Regions from separate parts of the Homo sapiens genome. Here regions 1 and 2 are each linked to region 3. The links are contacts of gene promoters, found by promoter capture Hi-C in human tissues and cell types (Jung and others, 2019). All regions are on one chromosome and are shown on one strand. The core of a region is centred on a gene start or on the middle of the fragment in contact, and the rest is flanking DNA. Distances in the headings are between cores, read along the strand shown. Region 1 holds the start of LOC105376470 (a long non-coding RNA gene). Region 2 has its middle 130 kb from the start of C10orf126. Region 3 holds the start of C10orf126 (chromosome 10 open reading frame 126).

The links. The method cuts DNA at HindIII sites, captures the fragments that hold promoters and counts their contacts. A contact is called where the count stands out against the background at its distance.
Region 1: a contact is called between a fragment that was not itself captured here and the fragment with the promoter of C10orf126 in region 3, in 1 of the 25 tissues and cell types used here (aorta).
Region 2: a contact is called between a fragment that was not itself captured here and the fragment with the promoter of C10orf126 in region 3, in 2 of the 25 tissues and cell types used here (aorta and mesenchymal stem cells).

Annotation. Positions count from the first base shown.
Region 1 is chr10:28,707,512-28,711,129 of GRCh38, forward strand. It overlaps LOC105376470 (a long non-coding RNA gene), which reads left to right and starts at 518. Exons shown (of 4, transcript XR_001747282.1): 1 at 518-690; 2 at 2,144-2,227; 3 at 2,790-3,044; 4 at 3,224-3,455. The HindIII fragment of the contact is 4,669 bases long and covers 1-3,618 here.
Region 2 is chr10:28,975,357-28,978,778 of GRCh38, forward strand. No RefSeq gene overlaps it. Among named protein-coding and RNA genes, the nearest start is that of C10orf126, 130 kb to the left of the region's middle. The HindIII fragment of the contact is 3,888 bases long and covers 1-3,422 here.
Region 3 is chr10:28,845,019-28,848,817 of GRCh38, forward strand. It overlaps C10orf126 (chromosome 10 open reading frame 126), which reads left to right and starts at 1,390. Exons shown (of 5, transcript NR_164114.1): 1 at 1,390-1,445; 2 at 2,101-2,245; 3 at 3,198-3,348. The HindIII fragment of the contact is 9,674 bases long and covers 1-3,799 here.

The DNA of each region.
Region 1 (3,618 bases), core at 1,013-3,512, 140 kb before region 3:
ACTTTGTCATCCAGGCTGGGGTACAGAGGTATGATCACAGCTCACTGCAGCCTCAACCTACCGGGCTCAAGTGATCCTCTGGCCTCAGCGCCCCCAAGTAGCTGGGACTACAGGCATGAGCCACCATGCTAAGCTAATTTTTGTATTTTTTTATAGAGATAGAGTCTCTCTATATTGCCCAGGCTGGTCTTGAACTCCTGGGCTCAAGCAATCCTCTTGCCTTGGCCTCCCAAAGTGCTGGGATTAAGGTCATGAGCCATCGTGCCCAGCCTTAAATAATTTATCTTTCTCCCTCCTCCCTCAGCCTAAGGTAATTATCAAATGAAATAATTCATCAGAAAGAGTTCTGTGACATGTAAAGCCCTGTAATAATGTGTTGGTAATACTATGGTGATAATGGATATTTTTCACAATGGGTATGCATGTGACATGCTGAGTTATGGAGGTATGGACTCAAGGGACAAGGAGTGAAATTGCCACATGTCTCAGGTTGGGGTGGGGGCTTGGGGTGGTAGCTGTGATCAGGGTGCTTGGGGTGGTGGTTGTGGTCAGGGCGAAGGTTGAGGGGAGGGATCTAGACAGCCTGGCCATATTGTTTTTGGAAAGAGCGCTATACAATGTTAATTTCTTCACTGATGAGTCAATGGATGAATGAAAGGATGTCTTCTTTAAACTGCTGCACGTTGGTGGGTAAGTGAATCTGTCCAAGGTAGATGGGAGACTGAAGAGTCAGGGAGGTCAATCTGGTGGGCAGGGGGGCCCATAAGTCAGGCAAGCCTAAGTCTGCTCCTTGAGCAGGTTGCTCAGCCTCTGTGTGGCTCATATCAGCTATCTCAGAGGGTTAAATAAAAAGACATACACAAAGAGGTCGGGCACGGTGGCTCATGCCTGTAATCCCAGCACTTTGGGAGGCCGAGGTGGGCGGATCACCTGAGGTCAGGAGTTCGAGACCAGCCTGGCCAACATGGTGAAACCCCATCTCTACTAAAAATATAAAAAATTAGCCGGGCGAGGTGGCACACGCCTGTAGTCCCAGCTACTCAGGAGGCTGAGGCAGGAGAATTGCTTGAACCCAGGAGGCGGAGGTTGCAGTGAGCCGAGATGGAGCCACTGCACTCCAGCCTGGGCGATGAGAGCAAAACTCTGTCAAAAAAAAAAAAAAAAAAGAAGAAGAAGACATACGCAAAGTGCCTGGCACAATTCTTTGCACAGAGTAGCTACTCAACAAGTGGCTATTACTGTTACCACTGAGGCAGAGTTTACACATCATCTCATCTCAAGCTGCCACAAGCAGACACGATTATCTTCTTGTGAAGAAATCTCAACTTCCCATTTATTTTCCTTTTTTCCCTCCTTTATTGAAACTTGGACTTTTAAGAATTTTGGTGCATGGATAATTTGAGGTCCATTTGACACAAGGAGAAAGTTCTGACAGTCGCTTTGAGTCTTGTTCTGTATGAAGCCACAGTGGTAGCAATGTGCTCCCCTGATAAAAAGCAAGAAACATGGTGCATTCCATTAAAGGAAAGAGGCATTAACTTTCCTCCCAGCCTGGTTACTCGGGACATTAATCAGCCCATAAAAATGGGATTAAGTCAAGTCTCAATTTAGCTCTGCAGTTTACCTTTAAAATGTAGCCGCGCTTTGTGTTTTAATATCGGGTGATCACATTTTAGATGTAATGAAAGAGCAAGGATATTTTCCCACAAATTTTCATGGGGATTCGTGACTGCAGATGGGACCCTCCCTGAAGACATAATGAACAATTATGCAATCTGGGGAATGGCTTTGGAGAAGCAGTTCCAGCTGGGGGTATATAAAGTGAGTTTGCTAAAAGCTGTGTAAATGAGGGGCTCCAAACCTGCCGTCATGTATTTCACCCTTTATGACCTAATGAATATGTTATATTATCATGAGCCTATCAGCTTGAAACTTTGCTTTTGCTCTGAGTCCCCCGAGGCAAACAGATGGATTTTTAAATCCTTCCTCTTAAAGTCTTACTGGATGGCAAAGCCTTTGCTTAAATGTGGAGCCTGAAATTATCCCGAGTTCTAAAGCATCCTTATTGGCTTTGAAGGAGCTGCTTTGACTCTATCCTAAAGGTTTGCTTTTTTTTTTCCCTTTTAAATTTTTCCTTCTCTAGGATATGATGCTAGAAGGGACCTCAGGGATGATTCCAGGCCAGAATGTTGACGGCTCCCAACCAAAGAGAAAAATTCAGATTATAGTGAGTTTTCTTAAGAAACTACATTTATTCATTTAAATGACTGATCTTTACTTTGAAGTTTTGTTTTTCTCCCTTGTTGGTATAAAATATCTTATTTTATTATCATTAATTAATTAATTAATTAATTTTTTTGAGACGGAGTCTTGTCTTATGACCCAGGCTGAAGTGCAGTGGCACCATCTCGGCTCACTGCAACCTCCGCCTCCTGGGTTCAAGCAGTTCTCCTGCCTCAACCTTCCGGGTAGCTGGGATTACAGGTGCCTACCACCATGCCTGGCTAATTTTTGTGTTTTTAGTAGAGATGGGGTTCACCAAGTTGGCCAAGCTGGTCTCGAACTCCTAACCTCAAGTGATCTGCCTGCCTCGGCCTTCCAAAGTGCTTATAGGTGTGAGCCACTGCCCCCAACCCATGTTTTTTTTATTGGACAATATGTCTAAAAGTATTTTTTAAAAGAAAGATAAAGCTAAAACGTTTTTGAAAAGAGCTTTGTTTTAAGCATTTTTGGTACAAAATCCAAGAGCCTGGGAAGCAGTGGTTTAGTGTAATCTCTTCATTTTACAGATGAAGAAGCTGAGGGCGAGGCCACTGTGCTTCCCCAAGGTTGCTGTATGAGTTGGGGTGGAAATGGGCCAGCTCCAGCCTTCTGCCTCCCAGCCTGGCTTCTTGTCCTCCACCAGCTGTCACTCGGAAAGTGAACAGAGAAGCCCTTGCCACTATAGTGGACAAGGGAAACTGTGGATACAGATTCCAGCAGTGAGAAAGGTCATTAGAGTTCTCCAAGGGCACAGCTTTGCAGCATGTCATGTCAAAAGCAGGGTGAGCCTCACATGCAGGCGAGGCTGCAGCTCTGAATTATACTCAAAGGTTCTGGAAATGTGCAGGCTTGCAAATGTTTCCTCTACTAGCCTGCAGTACCCATGATTACAACATTGCCACTCCTCTCCTTTGATTGGGCCTTTCTCTCTCTAATTTTCTTTTTTTTTCTCTCTTCCAAGGACATGTTTTCCCAGGACATGCACTCATAAATCTGTATCAGTCACTAACAATCTCGGGATGAACAAGTTCACTATTGTCGACTTTGGAAACTAGCTAGGAGCTGGAATTCTGATGGGGAAATAAACATCATTTTAGATCCAGGAAGTTCAGAATGAAAATGAAAAAGCAGATCTAGATGGAATGCTTCTAGAAGGCAAAGGAAGGTGCAGTGGACAGAGGTGGTGTCCAGGCCCTGGCACTGGTAAGAGATGCCTAGAGGCCAGGAGTTCACTGGATGGTGGGTGGATGGACAAAGTGAATGAACTTGGTCATGGTGTCTAGGGCCATTTATCTGGCAGGAAAGACTAAACTGAGAATGTGAAATCTCTGTGAGCAGGAGACTTTCAGAACACTT
Region 2 (3,422 bases), core at 480-2,979, 130 kb after region 3:
GTCCCGCCCACACCTGCGAATCAGCTGCCAGCACTGCACCTGTGATTTCTAAATTGCCATCTCCTGATCTCTACGTAACCTCCGGTTGCACATTTCCAGTTCCTTACCGGATCTACCCCACAAAGGTCCATATGTTCCTCAACGTCTCCAAGACTTCATCTAATTGTCCTGCCTGCCACCCCCATCTCTCCTTTAGCACTTCTATTTCTTATTTCCTAAGTCAATTGATAGGATTGCAAGAAAGTTTGGGGTTATCTTGGAATACTTCCCGACTCACAACTCCTGCGCAGGTAACCAGCCACGAATTCCTATGATTCTACCCCTAAAACTTCTCTGAGATCTATAGCCTATTCTCTATCCCCACTGCCACTGCCTGAGTTGGGCTTTTGCCATCTTTGGTAGAGACTGTAGCATCAATATCCATATCTAGTGCCTGCCCTGAGCCATTCCTGACTCTGCAATAAAGAGGAAGCCTTCTGACCAGTGAGACTAAGATCCACCATTGAAGAATGAGGAGGATATTTACAGGACTTCCTTAAGCCAATAAGCGTGATCTTGCTATATTCCAAGAGCATGCAGCTCATTTGAGAATGCTTCTCATGTAAATGTCCGTTGAGAGAAATGCAAACACAGCCCATTCACTGATTTGCCCTTTGTGTTGTCTTTTCTAACTCCTTTTCCCTTATGCGTGGGTGGAGTGCTAACAGCTGTACCAGGGAACAACTAATCCCATGGGCAACCCGCCGCCAGGGTCCATCATTCACAGAAGACAATCTACTGTTTCTCATTGTGCTCCATGATTCACCCACTGCAAGAGAAAACTAACACACAGAGTGATTGTTCCATCTCCCGTGGAGAGGGTCCTTATTATGACAGAGAAGTTATTTTCTTTTCTGTGGTTTCTTAAGGGTTCTCTAATTGGGTAACCCCCTGCTGACCCCCGGCTATGGCAGTTTCTATATTGATATCTTTGTTCCACTGCTTGCACACTGAAGCCAGGAACGAGTAATTCAAACCAACAGAGAGCATAAGATAATGGGGCTTTTATAAACTACTAGTGTTTAAAAGGCAATGACCCTTTAAGTTCACTGGAGTTCTCTTCCATTAAGAATTTTTCTCACCTGTACACAACAGATGGGGGATGCATTACAGCCCTGTGTCTGCTCCGGACGGGAGCTGAGCTCATCTGCTAGACTTCATGGACTTGAACCTGGACTGCTTTGGAGTTCATTCATGTTCTACCCACACTTGGATAACAGCTCAGAATAAGCACAGAAGCTTTCCATTTTTTTGTTTTGAATAAATATGGGAAAGTATAAAGGGTAATGGGAAATAAAATAAAAATATGGGAAAGTATAAAGGATAATGTAACAAAAACCCATATTCCTAGAAATGGTAACACCTAGAAATATTAACTTTTCAAATTTTGTCCTATTTGCTTGTGGTATTTTAATTTGAGAAAGTATAAAGGATGATGTAACAAAAACCTATATTCCTAGAAATGTTAACACCTAGAAATATTAACTTTTCAAATTTTGTCATATGTGCTTGAAGTATTTTTTTAAGGCAATAAAGCATTAGAGTTAAAACTAAAATCCTCTTTAGCCTCCAACCCTAGTGTTCCCAGTCCGCACCCCAAGGGCCACTATCATCATAGGATGGTGTATAGCTATGCGGTCCGTTCATTTCTTTTATTTCTTTCTACTGATATGAAATTTATTTATTGCATTTCTAGTCTATTAGTGTTAATAAAGTTTTAATGTGTATACTTATATATTTTTTCAAAACTTAAAATTCACCAATGTCTATATTCTCTGTAACATGGCAATATAGTTACATTCTGTGCTATTTTCAAACACTCTCCTTATCTGAACACCATGTTAACACCTACGTCTCAGTTCAAGCTTATTTTAATCACAACATTTTTTCTCTTTCTTTTCTTCTTTTCTTTTTTGTCTTCCTCTTTCTGTTACTGCTTTAGGATTTATTAATTATGATAGGATTGCAAGGACATTTGGGGTTATCTTGGAATACTTCCCGACTCACAACTCTGTTGGAAGAAATACTAGAATCCTGTTTCTGCCGCATTTGTGTCTTGATCCTTGAAACTTATGCCCTCTGTTCCTCAAGGACCTAAAACAGAAACACCACTCGACCCAGCAATCCCATTACTGGGTATATACCAAAAGGAGTAGAAATTGTTCTATCATAAAGACACATGCACACATATGTTCATTGCAGCACTATTTACAACAGCAAAGACATGGAATCGACCTAAATGCCCATCAGTGGTAGACTGGATAAAGAAAATGTTGTACATATACAACATGGAATACTACGCAGCCAGGAAAAATGACAAGATTATGCCCTTTGCAGGAACATGGGTGGAGCTGGAGGCATTATCCTTAGCAAACTAACAGAGGAATAGAAAACTAAATACTGCATGTTCTCACTTACAAATGCAAGCAAAATGATGAGAACACATGGACACAAAGAGGGAAACAACACACACTGGGGTTTTTTCAGAGGGTGAAGTGTAGGAGGGAGAGGATGGGGAAAAATAATAACTAATGAGTACAAGGCTTAATACCTGGGTGATGAAATAATCTGTACGACAAACCCCCGTGACACAAGCTTACCTATATAACAGACCTGCACATGTACGCCTGAACTTAAAATAAAAGTTAAATAAAAAAATGTTTAAAAAGAAACATTTCTTTATTGTGGATTCAGTCTTCTTGTGGAGGTATATTCTTTAGCTGTCCTTCCAGCAAACATCTGAGAGAGTATATTTCCTAGGTCCTGATGTCTCTGAAAATGTTTCCATTTTGCTCTCATTCTTAAAAGATGGTCCGGGAACAGAACTCCAAGTTAATAGCTATTTTGCCTCAACTGTTTTTAAGATAGTACTTAGCTTTCTTCTGGCATTTTTTTGGTTTGGTTTTGTTTTATTGTTCATGAAAAGTCTATTAGTGATATTTCTTTTGTGGGCAATCTAATTTTTTCTCTGATCACTTACAGTATTTTCAGTTTTAAATTCTGCAAATTTTGCAGTTTAACATGGTATGTACGGAGATTTTAACTTCATTAATCCTGGTGGATATTTTCATTCTGATTTATAGCTTTCATTTTTCCTAGAAATTTCCCAAAAAATTTGAATGTTTTCTCTCCTTATTCTTTCTATACTCTCCTACTGAAAGTCTGTTCATCAAATTCTCCTGTTTTCCATGTGTTTTAACTAATTTTAAAAACAATTTTCATGTTTTTATCTCTCTATGCTATGTTCTGGGTATTTCCTCTGTTCCACATTTTAATTCACTCATTTCTACTTTAGCTGTGTTTAGTTCATGAGTTAATGCATTTGTATTCTTCCTCCATAGCGGTGGTTATTTCTTGCTTTTGAATACAATGTACAACTTTTT
Region 3 (3,799 bases), core at 140-2,639:
GATTATTATCTATGCATTGAACATGCTCAGAAAAGAGAGGAGAAGTATTGGGGAGGATGCCAATGGGCTGAGAACTGATGTTGTTGAAAAAGGTGGTGAACAATGTTGGGCAGGGGTATTACAGGACCAACATGTTTGTATGCCTGTTGTGCAGAAACAGACCAATACACCAAGACAGCAGGCTTTGCAGCAGAGAGAGGGTTTGATGACAGCAGGGAGGCCGAGTGAGCAGATGGGAGAAGACCCTCAAATCCATCTCCCCGAAGAGTTCTAGGCTGAGGTTTTCAAGGGGATTATGGGGGGTGAGGGGCTGAAAAACTATAGTCATTGATTGGTTGGGGAAAGGGGGATGAAATCATCAGGATGTAGAAACTGCATTCTTCAGTGAGTCAGCTTCTCGTGGGGTCCTTCAGACCAGCTGGCGTCAGTAGTTTCATCAGTATGCATGACCTACAAGAATATCTCAAATGGAAAGCAACATTTCACAATGTTCAGTTGTTATCTGTGGAGCAGTGAAGGGGGACTCTAATCTTGTGACAGGGTCTGTGTGATTCTGGAGCAATAGGTAGCAAAACACTATGAGGAAGGATCAGAGAACAGCTGACCCCATGACTAACACTGAGTATGTGCAAGCTTGGCTTATTTTTGTTTCTCTCCCTCCCTTCTCTTCTGATTAATTGTATAAAGTTTCTAGGGACAGTTTCAGGGGTGATAGATGATGATGGTACGAGATTTGCAGTAGAAGGGAAGGAGAAGGTTCTGGAAGGGGAAAAGAGGACCAGCAGGGTCCCTCCATCACCTCCAGGTCTGCAGGAGGTGGCAGGAGGGCCTGGAATGAAAAACAGCCAGTGGCTGGGCGCAGTGGCTCACGCCTGTAATCCCAGCACTTTGGGGGGCTGAGACGGGCAGATCACGAGGTCAAGAGATTGAGACCATCCTGGTCAACATGGTGAAACCCCGTCTCCACTAAAAATACAAAAATTAGCTGGGTGTGGTGGTGTGTGCCTGTAATCCCAGCTACTTGGGAGGCTGAGGTAGGAGAACCACTTGAACCCGGGAGGTGGAGGTTGCAGTGAGCTGAGACCGCACCACTGCACTCCAGCCTGGCTACAGAGGGAGACTCCATCTCAAAAAAAGAAAAAGAAAAACAGCCAGCGCATGAGAGAAGATGTGAGCATCGTCCTCAGGGAAGAGTCAGTTTTTGTCAGAACAAGGAGGGACTATTTGGAAGTTAGTTTGGGATGTGAGGCGTTTTGCTATTAGTGGATCAGGCTGATGGCACCGTGGAGGGGTTTCAGGAGTCAAGAACAGGTGGGAGAAAGTTTCCCAGTGCAGGTTGTGCAAGCCTCCTGGCCCGGAGAGTGTGGGTGTGACGAGTGGCTTGAGAGACAGGGATGAAGAGCATGAATGCGAATGTACAGCACTGAGCTCGCGTCTGCCACATGGTAAGCTCTTAGAAGACCTCAGCTTCTTATTCATTTTGTCACAAATCGATTAATTACTGAGCTGAAGGACATATTAGAAAACGGTCAATAGCAATACTTCTAACTTCCAATCTGTACTTACGCTTGGCATTCAATCGATGTTATCAAAACCTGTGCCAGCTCCAAGGAAGAGAGAACACTGTTTTCTGATTTAGTTGCTTCCTGAAAGGAGCTGAGAGCTGTAAAACACAGGCAAGATTGGACTTTTCAATAATGCTTATATATTGACTTGCAGAAACAATATTAGAACTTTTTTAAAATGCACACATTATCTCCTTAGGGTAAGGGAAAAGGTTTTACCTTTTTATTTTTGCATCTCCCCTTTGAGTGAACATCATTCTTTTTTCTTTAACTCACAACTTTACAAGGTATTTGGAGAAATATAAGGGAGAGATAGTTTCTGTTTCTCACCTCTTTAAGCAATGTCCTCTTGTATACCAAATAATATCTTCCTGTGGTTAATGATATGAGAAACAGAATGCCTCTCCAGAAACCTTTTCACATCCCAGATTCAGAGTTCCTGAGGCCAGAATCTGATCTGACATATTTTACTACTTAGGTAAATCCTTAATCTCAAGAGTGATGAGAGTGAAGTCTTTTTATGTTTGTTTTTTAGAGATGGGCCTCTTTCTGTCGCCCAGGCTGGAGTGCAATGGTGTGATCATAGCTCACTGCAGCCTCAACCTCCTGAGCTCAAATAGTCCTCCTGCCTCAGCTTCCTGAGTTGCGACTACAGCCATGAACCACTGCATCCAGTTCAGGTTTTTTGTTTGTTTGTTGTTTTCCTTAAAAAACACTAGTGATTCTATTTTGATTCTGACAACTTTCATAAGGTCCAGGGACAAAATAAATGTGTTATCTCTTGGGAGGAGATGGATTTATAAGCCCATGGGCACCATTCAGAGGCCATATGCCCTGGAAGCACTGAGGAATGTGCTCAAAGCAAACCCTTGGGTCATCCTTGACTCTTCTTTTGCTCTCACATCCACATCCAATCTATGAGGAAATTAACTTAGCTCAGGTAGTTTAAAAATCCATCTGAATGTTGCGGCCAGGCATGGTGGCTCATGCCTGGAGTCCCAACTACTCAGGAGGTTGAGGCGGGAGGATTGCTTGAGCGCAGGAGCTCGAGGCTGCAGTGAGCTATGATCATGCCACTGCACTCCAGCCTGGGCAACAGAGCAAGGCTCAGGCTGGTCTTGAACTCCTGGCCTTTAGTGATCCTCTTGCCTTGTCCTCCCAAAGTGTTGGGATTACAGGCACGGGCCACTGAGCCCTGCCTAAAACGTTCAATGTCAGTGACTTGGAAGAATGTTCTGGTGGACGGGAAAGCCCCGGATGGAGAGAGGATTCAGGCATTTGAGAGGTCAGAGAGAAGCAAGGTATCCAAGGACAATGGAATTGGCTGCTTGTTGCTCAATTGAATTGAGGCTCTACATTAGGATAATGAAAAGCTGTAGGCAGTTAGGGAGCAATTGAAAGCCACTTGTGAAGGCCTGAGGGCCTCCAGGAATGGGGCCCATATTCACTCCATTCAGTGTAGAAAAAGCAGAAGACCAAACTATGGATTTAATAGGCTTGCCTAGCTTCAAAGATGATTATCATTACACAAAGATCAGAGCACTGGTTGGGAAAACATGGAGCTCTTGTGCACGGGATGGGGACATTTGGGTGGATGCCTCCAAATATTTTGAGCTCTCAAACTCTTCTAAGCCCTCAGAGCCTGCAGAGGTGGCTCATCCTTCCCTGTTATGATCTGAAACTACCCATATGGGCCAACACCACAGAGTTCTGTCCCCACGGGCCAAGGAGGGCTTCTCAGGATCCTCAACTTCTTGCCTGGTTGCCAGACCAATCACTAGAGGTAAGTCGCAACATCACCAAGCCAAGAATATTATGGCAACACTGATGAGCTAGAAAGAGACTGTACCTCCCTCAAACTGTGAAAAATTCACCCCCATGTACTAGAAGGAAGGAACTGGATTTTGAAGGCGCTTGATCAAGGAGGCAGGATAAAGGAGAATACAGGAATGTGAGGGCATTTTCTCAGGATATGGGACTTAATGCTTGGCAAAGACCCTAGAGGATGGTGCAGACTTGCTGCTTGGGTGGTTCAACAAGCCTGGAGATAGGTCCATGCTGAGCGGAGCTGAAACAGATTTTTAAAGGCTCAGGGAAGTGAACATGCTGGTATATTATGGCGATCAGAAGACCCATCAGAGGATTATTATGCCCAGGGAGGTCTGGAGAACACAGCATTCACCAAGCCATTGGGAAATTAGCTGAAGGCTTTCCTCTGCAGACCACAACTGGTG